Linked DNA regions of Homo sapiens: region 2 is linked to region 1. The links are contacts of gene promoters, found by promoter capture Hi-C in human tissues and cell types (Jung and others, 2019). All regions are on one chromosome and are shown on one strand. Each heading gives the region's core, a stretch centred on a gene start or on the middle of the fragment in contact. The rest is flanking DNA. Distances are from core to core; before and after follow the strand shown. Region 1 overlaps WDFY2 (WD repeat and FYVE domain containing 2). Region 2 holds the start of FAM124A (family with sequence similarity 124 member A).

The links. Contacts are between HindIII fragments. The study calls those that stand out against the background at their distance.
Region 2: a contact is called between the fragment with the promoter of FAM124A here and a fragment that was not itself captured in region 1, in 1 of the 25 tissues and cell types used here (dorsolateral prefrontal cortex).

What each region holds. Positions count from the first base shown.
Region 1 is chr13:51,595,998-51,598,697 of GRCh38, reverse strand. All of the region lies in intron 1 of WDFY2 (WD repeat and FYVE domain containing 2), which reads right to left. It also overlaps the pseudogene ATP5PBP1. Among named protein-coding and RNA genes, the nearest start is that of WDFY2, 13 kb to the right of the region's middle. The HindIII fragment of the contact is 4,599 bases long and covers 1-2,700 here.
Region 2 is chr13:51,221,009-51,223,708 of GRCh38, reverse strand. FAM124A (family with sequence similarity 124 member A) reads right to left here and starts at 1,311. Exons shown (of 4, transcript NM_001242312.2): 1 at 1,140-1,311. The coding sequence starts at 1,207. RefSeq lists silencers at 1,363-1,422, 1,543-1,592 and an enhancer at 1,373-2,163. The HindIII fragment of the contact is 11,319 bases long and covers 1-2,700 here.

The DNA.
Region 1 (2,700 bases), core at 46-2,545:
TAACCATATATATTTCTTTGGATAGAGAATACAAGATAAACCCATTTCCGAGTACACATAGTCCTATTACAGTGATTTTAGGATAAAGAAATGAGGAATTCCTTAGGGATCAGGCCAAGAACTTTTCTCCATATTCAGGAAGAGAAGGTAGAGGGGTAAGACTTGGCTGCCCTGTGTGAAAGATCCTTGTTGCATGCCCCCTGCACCTAGGAGGGCTGTGTTTTTCAGAGAGGGGTCCACTGTGGCGTAAGCAGAAAAGTAACAAGGCAGCAATCTTAGCATCCCTGTGACCCTGACCTCCCAAAGCAGTTTTATTTATTTGTATTTTTATCTTTTTTTGAGACAGAGTCTCGCTCTGTTGTCCAGGCTTGAGTGCAGTGGCGCAATCTCGGCTCACTGCAACCTCCACCTCCTGGGTTCAAGCAACTCTCCTGCCCCAGCCCCCGAGTAGCTGGGATTACAGGTGCCCGCCACTACACCCAGCTAATTTTTGTATTTTTAGTAGAGACAGGGTTTCACCATGTTGGCCGGGCTGGTCTCGAACTCCTGAACTCAGGTGATCTGCCCACCTCAGCCTCCCAAAGTGCTGGGATTACAGGCGTGAGCCACCACACCTGCCCCTGCCAAAGCAGTTTTATAAGGGAAAAGTTTAACACAGCTGAAGCAGAAATGCCCACTGAGATCCATATCAGGGCATATATATTAGACCTTGTGGAAATCCTATCAGTTTTCCTTTCACAAAATCTTAAAACCCATGAGTGGGAGGGAGACTTCACTCATCATAGCCTTCTGAATTTTGCATATACATGTACCATCAACTAAAAACCACCAAGGTTGATTATTTTGTAAATGTAAATGCTAGTATCTATTTCTACCTGCTGTTTTTCATTCAAATATTCAGAATTTCTTCAAGGGAAACAAACTACCAAATAAGTAACATTTTTAAAACCTTACTTCTTTTGTACTATGATTATTTTATTTCAAATTGTTGCAATCTCCTAGCTAAACTCCATTTCAAGTAACTAAATGTTTCTGCCATTTTGATCCCATTCTCTCTGCAAATCCATCCAGGATTTTTTGCCATCATTAACCTCACTTTTCCACATACATAAGCATGAACTACTAGGCAACAAAAGCAACAGACAGATAAACTTTTTAAGCAAAAGTTTTGAAAAAGCAGAAATAAGCAATGTCGGGTCCTGAAAATAGTGACTATAGCAGCATCCCTCAAAGGACAAACTTACTTGTGCAATGTGAAAACAGTTCATTGCTTCAAAAGTTTTCAAGTTCAAGTTCAGTCCTTCAGGCTTAAGAATGTAGTTTCCCAGTAATTATATAATGGTAAGGACATCAATGAAGTTCTTATGACCAAAATATAAGAACTTCAATTATAGCCAAAGACCCTTAGAAAAGTGCCTATGAGCACTGGAAATCTCAACACAGTAATCTCAAGAACTCAACCGTTTGTTCACTTATCAATAAAGCAACAACTTGGTATATAGTATACAGTTCTTCTGGGTTCAATTCTGACAATGATCTATACTTCCACTAATTCAATAATGAGAAATTATTAAAGAGTAAAGTAGAACATTTTTAAAAAGAAAACAAAAAATTAAAGTGAGGTGGGAGGAGGACCACACACTGGAGAAATATAATCTACCTGTAGACAAGCCCACACATGCCCCCAGAGCCTCAAGAGAACTTTTCTGGACCGCTTCTTCTCCGTATACTACACTGAACTGTGAAATTAAATTGTTCAAACTTAAAATAATTCCAACTTAAAGCTATTGGAATTTTAACTTATTCTGAGCCTTGAGAGGAATATGGCTACACAGCCCAAGTCACGTGGTGTACAGCTGCAACTTCTGCCTTTTTTCCTGTAAATAATTAAAAGGCCAAGCAGCACCAGAGATAAGACCCCCTCAGATCCTTGTCCCTTCTCATGGAGTAAGGAATCTTCCCTGGAATGTAGCAATCTGTAACCAATCAAATCGTTGTGGTGTATGTTCTGGTCTTATATGAACAATGCAATCTTGCTGGAACTTCTCTGTCTCTACCCATGTAAGTGAAACCTTAACTTCACTTTGGAACACTGAGCCCATTCACTTGGAGTCAGTGTTTCCAGGTGATCATCCTCAAGCTTTGCACTCAAACTGTATTTAAATCATATTTTCTGAATCTCATTATTTAAGGTTGACAGAACCTTTTAGGATTCGGTGAACTTTACTTTCTCAAACTTTGCCCTATCCTATCCACATCGAACTCAAAGATTTATATTTTGCATATCTGATGTGACAGAAATTTCCCAAATGGAAGCTCAATAAGAAAAATAAGTCAGAAAAGTCACACTGCAACCAAACTCCAAACCAATTTAATCCATTCAAACAGCATGCCAATTCAGCTAACTATGCATGCAGATTAACCTCCTTAATTTAATTTTATTTTCTAGATAAAAATTACTCATCTTTCAAAACTGTTTAACAATCTAAGCTCTGACATGTAAAGAGAATTAATTATTCAAATATAAATTCAAAAATATCCCCCAAATCGAAATATAATGAAATGAATTAGCCATTCCAACACTCCTTCTCCCCCAACGAACACTAAAACAGGTTACTGAGATTCTAACAGCAAGGCATGTAAACTGACTCCAGGAATATTAATCCAGATGCACAAAATAAAAAGCAACAATGTAATCTA
Region 2 (2,700 bases), core at 62-2,561, 380 kb after region 1:
GATAACAGAGAAAGCCCATTGCTGGGTGAATGCCCTAGGGAGTAAAGTCCCGCATTTGGGCTAGGAGTGGTGGGGCAGGAGGGGCCCTGTGGGGAGCTTTGCCGGGGTTGGGTTAGAACTCTGGGTCGATCGTGGGCCTGGATTCTCTACCTGCCCTCACAGGGTTGCCAAATCCTGAGATTAGTCTAAAACCTCTCCGACCTTCCAGGAATGAGGCTTTCTGTAGTCTAGGCAGCTCCCGCCCTCCCCCAGGATTACTCCAGATAGGAAAAAACACCCTTTCCTCCTGGGTCAGTACCCGCGGCCTGGATGTGGTGCTGACTCTGCACAGGAAAGTCCTTTAGAGACAGAGGCTGCCTGGAAGCCTTTATAACGACATTCATCTCCTAAAAGGCATTTTGTCTTTTCTTCCGCTCAGGAAAACAGTGTTTGGAGACTAACTAATTAGTCTCCAAAGGTTTGAGCCCATTGTTTGAGTCCGCTGAAGCGAAGAGAATATTAAAAAAAAAAAAAGGCAGGGCTAGATCCTAATCCCAACACCATCTCCATCCCGCCGGTACAACAGGCCAAAGGGTCCAGCTGGGACAGGTGCACTTAGAGGTGAGGAAGTTCGGCGGGACTGGAGGAGTCGGGGAGGGGGACTCGGCAGCACAGATTAAAGTCCCACGATGAAGCCATATAACGAGAAATGCCATCCTCCTAGCCGACTTCGGAAAGACTTTTAGGTGCGGGTGTCCCACCCTGCTTTTCTTCCTCTCCCGATCTCCAGGGCCGGACTCCAGGGGGCTCCGGAGCTACAGGAGGAAAGTCCCCGAGGAAGGAGGAAACAAGTGCAAGAGCATCTCCTGTCTCTAGCGATGCAGACAAGGGGTCTTTGCATCCGCCTGGCGCTCTGCATCGCCTCACAGGATGGGTGGGCTTGCACTGAACCTTGAGTCCTTCCACTTTCCTCCCCCCGGGTGGTGCCCGCCCTGCCCAGGGCAGCGCGGCCCGCCCAGGAGAGAGCGGGGGATCCGGCAGGAGGAGAAGCCCCGCGCCCCGGTCCCGTCGCACGGATCAGGAGGGTCCCCGTCCGGGGAGGAGCCGCCGCGCAACTCGGAGAGCGCCCCCCGCCCGCGGCCCGGCCCGGCGCGGCTCACCCTCCGGTCTCGGCGCCCGAGTCCACGCAGTCGTCCTCCTCGCCGCCGCCGCCCGCCTTTGGGTCCATGGTGCACGTCCCGGCCGCGCTCGGCTTGCGGGCGCCGTCGTGACCCGGGGCGCCCTCCCTCCCGGCCGCCCAGTCCGAGCCGGCCGGGCTCCCTCCGAGCGTCTGGCGGCCCGGGAGCCGGCAAACAACTCAAGCGCCAGCCGCGAACCCCGCGCCGCGCCCTCTCCCGACCGCGCCCGGCTGGGCACCCGCGCCTGCGCCCGCGCCCGCCCCGCCCCTCGCCGTCCGGCGGGACCCGCGTGTGCGCGCGGCGGTGCGCGGGGAGTGCGCGTGCGAGCGCGTGTGCGAGCGCGTGGGGGGCGTGTGAGCGTGAGTGGCCGAGGTGTGTGGTCTCACACCCGTGCGTCTGTGCATGCGGTGTGATGTGGGTGCGGTGTGCACTCCTGGTTGCACGCGACTGTGGCTGTGCTGAGCGCGTGTGCCCGTCTGTGGTGCGTGACCGCGTGTGTGTTGTGGGGGCGGGGTAAGTGTGCACACGAGAGCCGCCTCTCTCCCCCAGGCCCACAGTCCGGGAATCCCGAGCCCCAGGGCTTGCCACGAGGTTCCCCACCTCCTGATCTGGGAGGAGCACTGAGAAAACCAACCTCAGCGCATCGTGAAAGCTGGGAAGGATTTGTTTCCCTTTTGGGACCAATTCGAACACCTGGGTGTTTTCTTATAGTTTCTGAAGAATTGCTGACGCCAAATTCATTATCACCTTTCTCAGTACACGTCTGAGCGGCATCCCACCCCCTCAACTTGCCAGTTTACAATAGGTGTCATGCATTCTTTTGCTACTTAAAAAAAAAAAAGCCTTTAAAAATAATTTAAAGAGCATTGAATGAACCTGCAATTCACGGGTTGTTGCAGCAAGGGGATAACCTTAGGGTGAGTTAATGATCGCTATTGGAGGGGCTCACCTCCTATTAGGAGGGTGAAGAGGGAGGCAAGTTGGCAGGGCGGGCGGAAGGAGACTTCGAACAACTTGAATTTAGTTCTGACAGCCCTATCCAAACCATTGGGAGGAATTGTCCTTACTGAGCCTAAAATTTCTTGCACCCCAAACAGCAATGGACATATTGGTGGGCATTAGCTGAAAGAAAGGAGCGTGCCAGTTCTTCAAGGGAGATTCCCCTGCCCATTTTTTATCTTGCAGCCAGGAGGGAACCTGCCTTTATTTACTCTGTGTGGGAACAATTCAAACTGTGCCTCATTTGATCCTCAGGGAAGTGCTGTGAAACAGGCTTACTTTTCTATTTTACCGTCAAGGAAACTAAACCCTACCGAGTTCGAGTGCCTGGTCCCAGGACACCCTATCAGTGAGCAGGGAAGCCAGGTAGTCCACTTAAGGTAGCTGGAGCCTGTGCCACTTACCTAGAAGGCTGATGAGTGGGCCAGTTGTATCCTCAGGAAGATGGTACTAAGGAAAAGGCCAGGGAAGAAAGGGTGAAATCAGCATGACTTTTAGAAGATGGGCTTTGGAAAATGAGATGCTATTTAAATGATTTCTGCCT